4 separate regions of the Homo sapiens genome follow, and all the other regions are linked to region 4. Evidence: promoter capture Hi-C in human tissues and cell types (Jung and others, 2019). All regions are on one chromosome and are shown on one strand. The core of a region is centred on a gene start or on the middle of the fragment in contact, and the rest is flanking DNA. Distances in the headings are between cores, read along the strand shown. Region 1 has its middle 20 kb from the start of INSL4. Region 2 overlaps GLDC (glycine decarboxylase). Region 3 overlaps UHRF2 (ubiquitin like with PHD and ring finger domains 2). Region 4 holds the start of ERMP1 (endoplasmic reticulum metallopeptidase 1).

Region 1 (2,700 bases), core at 100-2,599, 580 kb after region 4:
CTTTTTCTTTCTACTCTCTATGTTCCTCTTTTTCTAGTTTCTTCAGAAGTAAAGTTTCATTGTTTTTTAGTATCATTCTTTTTTGACTTAGGCCTATGCCAAAAACTTTTCTTTAGATATGTGTTTGCTACATCCCATAAGTTTTGGTATGTTGTGTTTCTATTTTTAATTGTCACAAGTTAACTTTCTGTTTCTCTTTTGATTTCTTGCATGACCTAATGGTTGTTTGGGAAGATGTTGTTTAATTTCCACATATTTGTGAATTTTTCAGTTTTCCTCATATTATTGAGTTCTGGTTACTTGAAATGTAAAGACTAGGTTGTTTATTTGTGATCCATATTCTTCTTATGGTGTTTATTGCTATAAAATTCCCTCTTAAGATTGCTTTAGCTGCATTCCATAATTTTGTTAGGTTGTATGTCCATAATCATTTGTTTCAGGATATTTTAAAATTTTTCTTTTAATTTCTCCTGTGGTCCATTTTTCTTCAGGAGCATGTTGTTTAATTTCTACATATTTGTGAATATTCTGAAATTCATCCTATGATTTCTAATTTCATACCAATGTGGTTGGAAAAAAATAATTAGTATGAATTTTGATCTTATTGAATTAGATAACACTTGGGTTTTTTACCTCACATACAATCTGTCTTGGAGAATTCTGTGTGTGTTGAAAAAAATGTGTATTCTTCTGTTGTTGGATGGGAAGATCTGTATATATCTGTAGGTCCATTTGGTCTATATTATTCAAGTGTACTGTTTCCTTATGGATTTTGTGTCTGGGTAATCTATCCATTGTTTAAAATGGACTATTAAAGTCACTTATTGTTATTGTATTGCTGTCTATTTCTCTCTTAAGGTCTGTTAGTATTTATTTTATATATTTAGTTGCTCTGATGTTGAGTGCATTTATTTTTACAATTGTTATGTCCTCTTGATGAAATGACCCTTTAATCATTATATAATGACTTTTTAATTTTTAAATTTTTTATTTCAATAGGGTTTTGGGGAACAGGTGGTGTTTGGTTACATGAATAAGTTCTTTAGTGGTGATTTCTGAAATTTTGGTGCACCCATCACCCGAGCAGCATACACTGTACCCAACGTGTAGTCTTATATCTTGCCACCCCCACTTTTTTCCCTGTCTCCAAAGCCCAATATGTCATTCTTATGCCTTTGCGTCCTCATAGCTTAGCTCCCACATATAAGTGAGAACTATGGCTTGGTTTTCCATTCCTGAGTTACTTCACTTAGAATAATAGTCTCCATTTCTATTCAGGTTGCTGTGAATGCCATTATTTTATTCTTTTTATGGCTGAATAGTATTCTATAGTGCGTGTGTGTGTGTGTGTGTGTGTGTGTGTGTGTGTGTATCACATTTTCTTTGGGGCATTAGGGCTGGTTCCATATTTTTACCTATGCACTATACCTATGCACTATAAACATGTGCGTGCAAGTATTTTTTCATGTAATGACTTCTTTTCCTCTGGGTAGATATTTAGTAGAGGGATTGCTGGATCAAGGGGTAGATCTACTTTAAGTTCTTTAAGGAATCTCCACGCTGTTTTCCATAGTCGCTGTACTAGTTTACATTCCCTCCAACAGTGTAAAAGTATTACCTTTTCACTGCGTCCATGCCAACTCTATTATTTTTTGATGTTTTTTATTATGGCCATTCTTGCAGAAGTGAGATGGTTTGCATTGTGGTCTCGATATGCATTTCCCTGATAGTGATGTTGAGCATTTTTCCATATGCTTGTTGGCCATTTGGATATCTTCTTTTGAGAACTGTCTATTCATACCCTTAGCCCACTTTTGATGGGATTGTTTTTTGTTTTTTGTTTTTTCTTGTTGATTTGTTTGAGTTCCTTGTAGATTCTGGATATTAGTCCTTTGTATAGATTGTGAAGATTTTCTCCCACTCTGTGAGTTGTCTGTTAATTGTACTGAATATTTCTTTTGCTGTGCAGAAGCTTTTTAGTTTAATTAAGTCCTATTTATTTATTATTGTCTTTGTTGCATTAGCTTTCAGGTTCTTGGTTACGAAATCTTTGCCTAAGCCAATGAATAGAAGAGTTTTTCCAATGTTATCTTCTAGAATCTTTATGGTTTCAGGTCATAGATTTCAGTCTTTGATCCATCTTGAGTTGATTTTTGTATAAGGTGAGAGATGAGAATCCAGTTTCATTCATCTACATGTGGCTTGTCAATTATCCCAGCACCATTGATTGAATAAGGTGTCTTTTCCCCTCTTTATGTTTTTGTTTGCTTTGTTGAAGATCAGTTGCCTGTAAGTATTTGGCTTTATTTCTGGGTTCTCTATCCAGTTCCATTGGTCTATGTGCCTATTTTTATACCAGTACCATCCTGTTTTTGTGACTATGGCCTTATAGTATACTTTAAAGTCAGGTAATGTGATGCCTCCAGATTTGTTCTTTTTGCTTAGTTTTGCTTTGGCTATGCAGGCTCTTTTTTGGTTCTATATGAATTTTAGATTTGTATTTTCTAGTTCTGTGAAGAATGATGGTGGTATTTTGATTGGGATTGCATTAAATTTGTAGATTGCTTTTGGCAGTATGGTCATTTTCACAATACTGATTCTACCCACCCATGAGCATGGGATGTGTTTCCATTTGTTGTGTCATCTATGATTTCTTTCAGCAGTGTGTTGTAGTTTTCCTTGTAGAGGTCTTTTGCTTTA
Region 2 (2,700 bases), core at 1-2,500, 760 kb before region 4:
GACCCTGCCTCCAAAAATATTAAATAAATAAATAAATAAATAAATAAGTAAAATTATATATTTGATCCATTTTGAGTGCTTTGTGGCCCAGCCACCCAGAAGCCTGGATGTCCACATGTGGCTCCAGGCACAGTTCTGGCCCTATCATCTCTGTGTTTCTCCTTCAGGAACTGGTTGCTGAAAGCATGGGAGAGGAGTGCAGAGGTATTCCAGGGTCTGTGTTCAAGAGGACCAGCCCGTTCCTCACCCATCAAGTGTTCAACAGGTTTGTGTGTCTTGTGTGACTTCTGCGTTTTGTGCTTTGGTAATCAGCTAGGGAGTTAGGCAGAGTGCTGCTGCTGATTTCGCCTGCTGTGGCCTGGTTATTCTGGCTCAGCCGTGGCTCCCAAGTATTTCATCCTCATAACGATCCCGTTCCTGACTTGGGAAAAGCACACTTTGTTTCCTGGTGGCTCTGCTCCCTTGGCAGTCAGGAAGCAGGGATGAATAATTGCCAGGCTGAAGTTCACTCCCAAGAGCCCTATATCCTCTTCTTCCCAACCTTCAACTCATACCCACAGTCAGCTTCTTGTCCAAGACATCCTCTGAGGTTTGTGGGGGTCTGTGCCCTTCTCTCTGAGTGTAGTTGACATATTGTCCGTGGCCAAAATTGATCTGCATTTTGAAAGTAGATTTCGGTGTGTCTTATATGTCAGGAGGATGTGCATGGACTCATATCTACTTTTGGGGCCCCTAATTCTGTGTTTTGTGTTCACAGCTACCACTCTGAAACAAACATTGTCCGGTACATGAAGAAACTGGAAAATAAAGACATTTCCCTTGTTCACAGCATGATTCCACTGGTAGTTATTTGTGGCCTTTTTTCTCATTTCCAAGCTACCCCAATCCCACGTCTCTTGGTCCTACCTAATATGCTCCAAGAGCAACAAAGGGGTGGCCATGCTGGGAGAATGGAGGGTTGATTGATGGACTATAGAAAATCACTAATGTGATACATTTTGGATGTTCTTCTTAAAGGGATCCTGCACCATGAAACTGAACAGTTCGTCTGAACTCGCAGTAAGTAGCTCACTTCTGTAAGTGGATACTCAGCAAGGGGCAGTGTTCTAGCTTCCACCTAAGCCCAGAACTAGTGAAATCTACTGGGACTGTGATTCTGTGATTGAAGAACTATTTTAATAATTCTTTACCTTGCTATTCACCAATCTTGGGAGTAACCCTGTATTTCTCACGACTTCATCATTTAAATGTATGGGTAAACTTATTATTTTTTAATAAAATTAATTAAATGTATATGGTATTTATGCCTTTCTATCCTATCCCTCCCCCACCCCCACCCCCTTTTAAACCTGTCATATTAAAAGCTTTTTTAAAAAAAATTGTTTATAGTTCTAAATCTCAGGTAGAATTACGAACCTTAAGCCGTCTTTCTAGAAATCATTCCTGTATCAGAAAGATAGGGATTCAAGTCAACAGAAGATTTGTGCAACTCGCTGTTGTGGTTGGCAAGTATCTCTACTAGGCCAGGATCCATTTTAGCGAAGCTTTTTTTTTCTTTCTTTCATTTCTTACGTTTATTCTGAAGTGACATATCATATCAGACGAAAGAAATCATTTTATATCATGATAAGAATATTTCCCTCTCTATTTTTTTAAAAAATAGAGTCAAGGTCTTGCTGTGTTTGCCAGTCTGATCTCAGACTCCTGGCCTCAAGCAGTCCTCCCACCTCAGCCTCCCAGAGTTCTGGAATTATAGGTGTGAACCACTGTACCTGGCCTTCCCATTTACTTTTGTGTTTGTTTCTTGTTCCACTTAGTGAAGAAAGAGAACAATCTATTGCTATATAAGAGTTTATGCCAACCATACCTGAAGCAACTCATTGTGTTTCATGGAAAGAAATCTGTTTTGGGGGCTTTTCTTCCCTGAAAAGTTAGCAAAACATTGTATTTTTGTGTAAGTTCCCTTTTTGGACAACTATGTCCCACTTTTAAATGAAGACAGTAACGGTACTTACCTTATAAGGTTGTGGTGGAACTTAAATAAATTAACATATGTATAGCGCTTAGAACAGTGCCTGGCACATAGCTTTTCTCATCATCGTCATTATTATTAAAGTTATTATTGCTATTGCTATTATAATATGTATATATGCATTTTTGTTTTCTTTCTTTTCAGCCTATCACATGGAAAGAATTTGCAAACATCCACCCCTTTGTGCCTCTGGATCAAGCTCAAGGATATCAGCAGCTTTTCCGAGAGCTTGAGAAGGATTTGTGTGAACTCACAGGTTATGACCAGGTCTGTTTCCAGCCAAACAGGTAAGGGCATTTCTTTTCTTATTGTTTCAGCAATCTATTCTTGTATAGCATACACCACAAAACTTAAAGGCTTAGAACAACAACTTTTTTGTGTTATTCTGTGACTTGCTAGACAGTTCCACTCCACTGGGGAGAGCATGGCTAGAAGGTGCATCGTGTTCTCCCTCACATAGCTGGTGAGGAGCTGTGGGCTGGGAGTGCATTTGAGGATGTTCACTAGGGCCATAGTTTTTCTCCATATGGGGCTTTCCTTGTAGTTCCTTGAGCTTCCTTGTTCCTTACAGCACAATGTCGGGGTTCAGAATGCGTGTTCCCAGATGAAGCATGGAGAAGCTGCAAATCTCTAATGGCCGAACCTCCTAAGTTACACTGCATCCCTTC
Region 3 (2,733 bases), core at 83-2,582, 600 kb before region 4:
GCTGAGACAGGAGAATCGTTTGAACCCGGGAGACAGAAGTTGCAGTGAGTCAAGATCACACCACGGCACTCCAGCCCAAGCCATAGAGCAGGGCTGTCTCAAAGAAACAAACAAAAAACAATTCAGCCTATGTTCACCAAGAAATCTATAGAAAAGGACCATTTACAAGCAACTAGTAAAACTCAAATTTTAAAACATTTCAAATCTCTTAACATAACCTGTTTTTCATAAACTTAGTGTTTGTATCTGTAATTTTTGAAGGAATAGTGGAGATAAATTAGGAAACAAATTATTTCAGTTATATTTTAGAATTACATCTTCTACTATATCTTAAATTTTTTTGGTTTGGTGTTTGAAACTCCTCTACCTAAGAAGAAACATCATAAATCTATAATGGCTATCATTCCTCATAGACTAAAGATTGTTTTTAACTCTGCTCTGACTGGAGTAGAAGTTGAAAATGCAAGAGAATAGCTATTTATCTTGGCCTAATTCAGCAACGAATTCTGTTTTAATGAAGCTTCATTTCAAAGACTGATAATCTGGTCTAGTAATCTATTAGATACGTAGATTACTATAAAAAACAGCTTTTAAACAGCTCCATTTTAACTGACAAACATTGCATACCCCAGAATAATTCCAGAGGCAGGTTTCTTTCATCTCATGTACAATACATCTCCCTGCTTTTGCTAAATGACAGCTTGTTCAAACTACACTGCTACACTCAAGAGGTTTGCAGACACAATTGTGCACAGGTTTGCCAAATAATGCTTATCACTCTAGGAGAAAAATGAAAAAGTAGTTCTTTGAGAGAAATACCATAAAGCCATAAATGCAATGGGATGGTAACCTATAAGCACTTAAAGCCTATTTAGTTAAAGTACAAAAATGTGACTTTGAGAGACACTGGCTTAGAGGTAAAAATGACATGCTGTCATTACAGGTCATCTAATACAATTACTAACTTCATAGATTCTCTTTGCAGTGCATCATCTCCAATAAGTCTTCCCATCTATGGTTGAAAATGGCCAATGCTAGTTTACTGGCTACTTCTCAAGGCAGACCATTCTCCATCTTCAGAGATATTTGACTGGTAGGAAGTTTAGGTTATCCTGAAACTTCCCTTCTGTGTTATACAGAAATCTCTTCTAAGAGCTTTTACAATATGGGAACAATCATAATCCAGGTCTTTCAAGCTAAGTATTTAGTTTTTTTGGCTACTCTTCACTGTAGTTTTACATTTTGAGTCCTACTCTGAACATGCACCAGGTCCTGATGGTATTGTTTTTAAGGCATGAGAGCTGGAGGACAATATTCCTAGTAGGGAATAGCCAGTCCAGTACAACAGCAGCATCATCTGGTTTGTACTAGGTATCTTACTTCTAATGAAACTAGCCGGGTGCGGTGGCTCACACCTGTAATCTCGCACTCTGGGAGGCTAAGGTGGGTGTTTGAGATCAGGAATTCAAGACCACCTTGGCCAACGTGGTGAAACCCAGTCTCAACTAAAAATACAAACATTAGCCAGGTGTGGTGGTGCATGCCTATAATCCTAGCTTCTTGGGAGGCTGAGGCACGAGAATTACTTGAAACCAGGAAGTGGAGGTTGCAGTGACCTGAGATCGCACCACTGCACTCCAGCCTGGGCCACAGTGCAAGACTCTGTCTCAAAAATAAATAAATAAAATAAAGCAAAACAGATTTACAGCATAACTATATGACAACCACATTCTATCGACTCACTTGGAGCTTACTACTCAATAAAAAAATCTGGCCAGGTGCAGTGACTCATACCTGTAATCCCAGCACTTTGGGAGGTTGAGGTAGGTGGATCACCTGAGGTCCAGAGTTCAAGACCAGCCTGACCAACACGGTGAAACCCCGTATCTACTAAAGATACAAAAGTTAGCCAGGCGTGGTGGCAGGCACCTGTCATCCCAGGTACTCATGAGGCTGAGGCAGGAGAATCGCTTGAACCTGCAAGGCAGAGGTTGCAGCGAGCCGAGATCGTGCCACTGCACTCCAGACTGAGCAACAGAACGAGACTCTGTCTAAAAAATAATAATAATAAAATAAAAAATCTGCTTATTACTACTGTTAGGCTATACCAGCTTTCTTCAATGCATCCTCCATTCAAAGAAGAACTTGTTTGATGACTTACTGAAATCAACATGTACTTCATTATATTTTATAATTCATTTTTCTAATGATCACAAAGAATGAAACTTTAACATGCTTTGTATCACAACCATATCGGGCTCATAATGATTCTTTTATCCAGGAGCTTATTTATGTTATACATCTCATATTTTATATAGTCCTTTCCTCTTTTTAAAGAGGTGACATTTACCTGTTACTAAGCTTCTGTTATCTTTCATTTTTCAAAGAAAGTTCAGCTATCGTATCTTTAAGTTGCCAGCATTGAAACATTTAATTCCATCACGTAAAATTATTTAGGGCAGGTAATTTTAGTCTTTTCACACATGTTGGATTTAGATTCCCCTTTACTTAACATTCATTCTAACTGACAAAAAAAGTTGCCAAATATATGCTAAGGTACTGTGTTTTGTGCTCTAAGATACACCAAACTGAAGGGTAGGTCCTATCCATTGGATAGTCTTACTTCAAAAGCAACTTTAAGAGCCCCTAAAACTGTAAAATTTAATAAGCCTTAGTTCACTATTTAAAGTTCCTTATTCTATGTCTATGTTGTGCCATTCTGCATAATATTAT
Region 4 (2,700 bases), core at 193-2,692:
ATGCTTGCTGCCACAAAAGTGGTATGTTTTCATTTTTTCATTCACTCAAGAAATATCTATTGACTACATACTATGTGTCATGCTTTGTGTTAAGAGCAAGGAATAAAATGGTGAGTAAAACCAGACCTGATTCCTGCCTTCGTGGGGCTTACAGTCTAATGAGGAAGTTATGAAATAGTCACATGCAAACATGGTGCTGTGAGATCCTACAAATAGGGGAAGCAAGCTTAATTAAATTAGGAGATTCTTGCTTGAGGAAGTACCACTTAATCTGAGATTTAAAGGATAACTAGGAGTTAAAAAGACAATGAGGAGAGAGAAGAACACTCCAGGTAATTCAAACAGCATGTGAGAAGATCCTATTGTAGAAGGAAAGATGCGTGCAGGAAGTCTTTGAAAGAGGCCAGTGTGGCTGGAGAGCTGGAAATAAGAAGCATCCTGGTGTCAGAGGAGCCTGAGAGGTGGGCAAGAGCAGGACTATAGGGCATTGTATGAAATCTGACATATGTGCTAAGTCAAAATCCGGCAGTGTGCTCTCCCAGTTGGTCTCTAGGTTAATGCTCATGCTAATGTAGCAACTCCAAGCTAGGGACAAAAAACCTTGGAGCAGAGAGGCTCATGGGTACCGGCAAGCTGGAAGAAGACTAGATAATCACTAGGATCTGCACTGAAACCAAGGCTCTGCTGCTTAACCGCCCCAGAGAGTCGTCAAGTGAAGAATGGCCTTTCTGAACCTTCACTTGCAGAGTGCTAATGTAGTAGTGGAACAGAATGCTGTTTTGGGAGCCCATGAAATTAGATTTACATTCTTCATCTGTTATCTCTACGTTTCTCAGGTTATAAAATGGGAACAAAGATATTTCCTTTTAAGTATTGTTAAAGATAATTAAATAAGATGATGTATTAAAGGACTTGACCTAGCGCTTAGCTCATAGCAGGTATTCAATAAATAATAGCCATTATTTTTCTTTATCTGTTAAATGGAGACAGTAATAGCACAGATTAAGTTGCTGAGTTATGAAGATCTGATTAGATTATGCATGTGAAAGCAATAGGCCGGGCCTCCTCTGCGTAATCTTATTTCTAATTTTAAGAGCCAGGAACCCACTTTTTTGGAGCCTGATGTTCTAATATTCCTTCCTTACGAAAGCCAGGTCATTGCTTTTTTCATCTGCCTGATGCACTGTAAGAGCCTTGTGTGTTCTTTCAAAAGCGATCTCTCATTTTTCTCGTTTTGGGTTTTTAGGTGTCTTTACATTTGGCAATCTCCGTCCTACAGAGGGCTGGAAAAGCCCTGCGGGAGACGGCATATCCACCACCCGCTGCTGGGTCGGCCCTGCAGCTGTGTGCACCCGAGAACTGCCAAAGAAGCTGGGTCTTGGCGCGGCGGGACGGGCCAATCAGAAGAAGTTTGGCCCTCTGCAGTTTCCGTCCGCTCACTAGGAGGCGCTGCGGCAGCGACGGCGGCGTCGGCGGCGGCCGGGGCTGTCGCGGGTTGGGGCGGTTGGGCTGGCAGCTGAGGCTCGTGGCCATGGAGTGGGGTTCTGAGTCGGCTGCTGTGAGGCGGCACCGCGTCGGAGTAGAGCGTCGAGAGGGAGCGGCGGCCGCGCCACCGCCGGAGAGGGAGGCCCGAGCGCAGGAGCCTCTGGTGGATGGGTGCAGCGGCGGCGGGAGGACGCGGAAGAGGAGCCCCGGGGGTAGCGGCGGCGCGAGCAGGGGCGCGGGGACCGGGCTGTCTGAGGTGCGCGCCGCGCTGGGGCTCGCGCTCTACCTGATCGCGCTGCGGACGCTGGTGCAGCTCTCGCTGCAGCAGCTCGTGCTACGCGGGGCCGCTGGACACCGCGGGGAGTTCGACGCGCTCCAAGCCAGGTACCGGCCGCTCCCTCCTGGCACGGCCCGCGCGTCCGTTTGCGGCTCCTGCGCAGGCTCCGGGGCACCGCACCTGTGTGCACCCGCCCCTGCCGGACCGCTGGGACTCGCTGACCCCTCCCAGGCTGCACGTGGGGTGGGGTGACCTTGCTTGTCCTTCTTCTGGGGTCTGAATTGCCGGGACTTGGGGCTTGCCTGTCCCCGGTTAAGCTCGTGGTGCAGATTGGGGTTGCCAGGTAGATTGAACCTGCTTTCCACTGTCTGCCCTTCGTGCAGATGGTTGGTTGTGAGTCGTCTCCCCATATTCTGGAACAGCTTCCCCTTTTTACCTTGCTTAGCCCTTCTGCTTTCCAGATGGAAATTTGTGTACCTAGACTGTTGTATAAATTCGCTTTGGGGGCGGGGAGTTTTGGAAGGCGCTAGTGCACTGTTCTAACTTTCTGAGGGTTACAGCCCCCACATCTGAAGGCTATAGAAACTCTTTCTGGAACACCGCCCAGTCAAAATTTGGTATGCAGTCTGATAAATTCTCAGATCCCTGCAGTTTATCTTTAGGCCCCTTGGATTAGTGACTGTGTAAGGTTTGACTTTTTTTTTTTTTTTTAAGACCTTTAAGAATGCTAGGAAAGGTGATTAAGTCAAAGATATTGTAACCCAGGTGTGTCAAAGCTCATGAAGTGTTAAGCTGGCGTCAAGTTTTCAACAGCTACTGTGTTCTAAAAAGTTTTTGCTAGAATGCAAAGTGTTGCAAGCTTATTAAGGACTTTCTGAAACGTCTCCCACCCCCACTTCCAGCTTTCCCCACTTGGAATGCAGTGAAAAGACAAAAAC

What was found. Contacts are between HindIII fragments. The study calls those that stand out against the background at their distance.
Region 1: a fragment that was not itself captured here is called in contact with the fragment with the promoter of ERMP1 in region 4 in 1 of the 25 tissues and cell types used here (heart left ventricle).
Region 2: a contact is called between a fragment that was not itself captured here and the fragment with the promoter of ERMP1 in region 4, in 1 of the 25 tissues and cell types used here (lymphoblastoid cells).
Region 3: a contact is called between a fragment that was not itself captured here and the fragment with the promoter of ERMP1 in region 4, in 1 of the 25 tissues and cell types used here (hippocampus).

The regions. Positions count from the first base shown.
Region 1 is chr9:5,249,699-5,252,398 of GRCh38, reverse strand. No RefSeq gene overlaps it. Among named protein-coding and RNA genes, the nearest start is that of INSL4, 20 kb to the right of the region's middle. The HindIII fragment of the contact is 6,926 bases long and covers 1-2,700 here.
Region 2 is chr9:6,586,760-6,589,459 of GRCh38, reverse strand. GLDC (glycine decarboxylase) reads left to right here. Exons shown (of 25, transcript NM_000170.3): 12 at 168-265; 13 at 758-842; 14 at 1,018-1,059; 15 at 2,177-2,319. Among named protein-coding and RNA genes, the nearest start is that of GLDC, 58 kb to the left of the region's middle. The HindIII fragment of the contact is 3,053 bases long and covers 1-2,700 here.
Region 3 is chr9:6,436,572-6,439,304 of GRCh38, reverse strand. The region is part of intron 3 of UHRF2 (ubiquitin like with PHD and ring finger domains 2); the gene reads right to left. Among named protein-coding and RNA genes, the nearest start is that of UHRF2, 25 kb to the right of the region's middle. The HindIII fragment of the contact is 5,119 bases long and covers 1-2,733 here.
Region 4 is chr9:5,831,859-5,834,558 of GRCh38, reverse strand. ERMP1 (endoplasmic reticulum metallopeptidase 1) reads left to right here and starts at 1,442. Exons shown (of 15, transcript NM_024896.3): 1 at 1,442-1,869. The coding sequence starts at 1,532. RefSeq lists silencers at 1,356-1,575, 1,656-1,875. The HindIII fragment of the contact is 3,970 bases long and covers 1-2,700 here.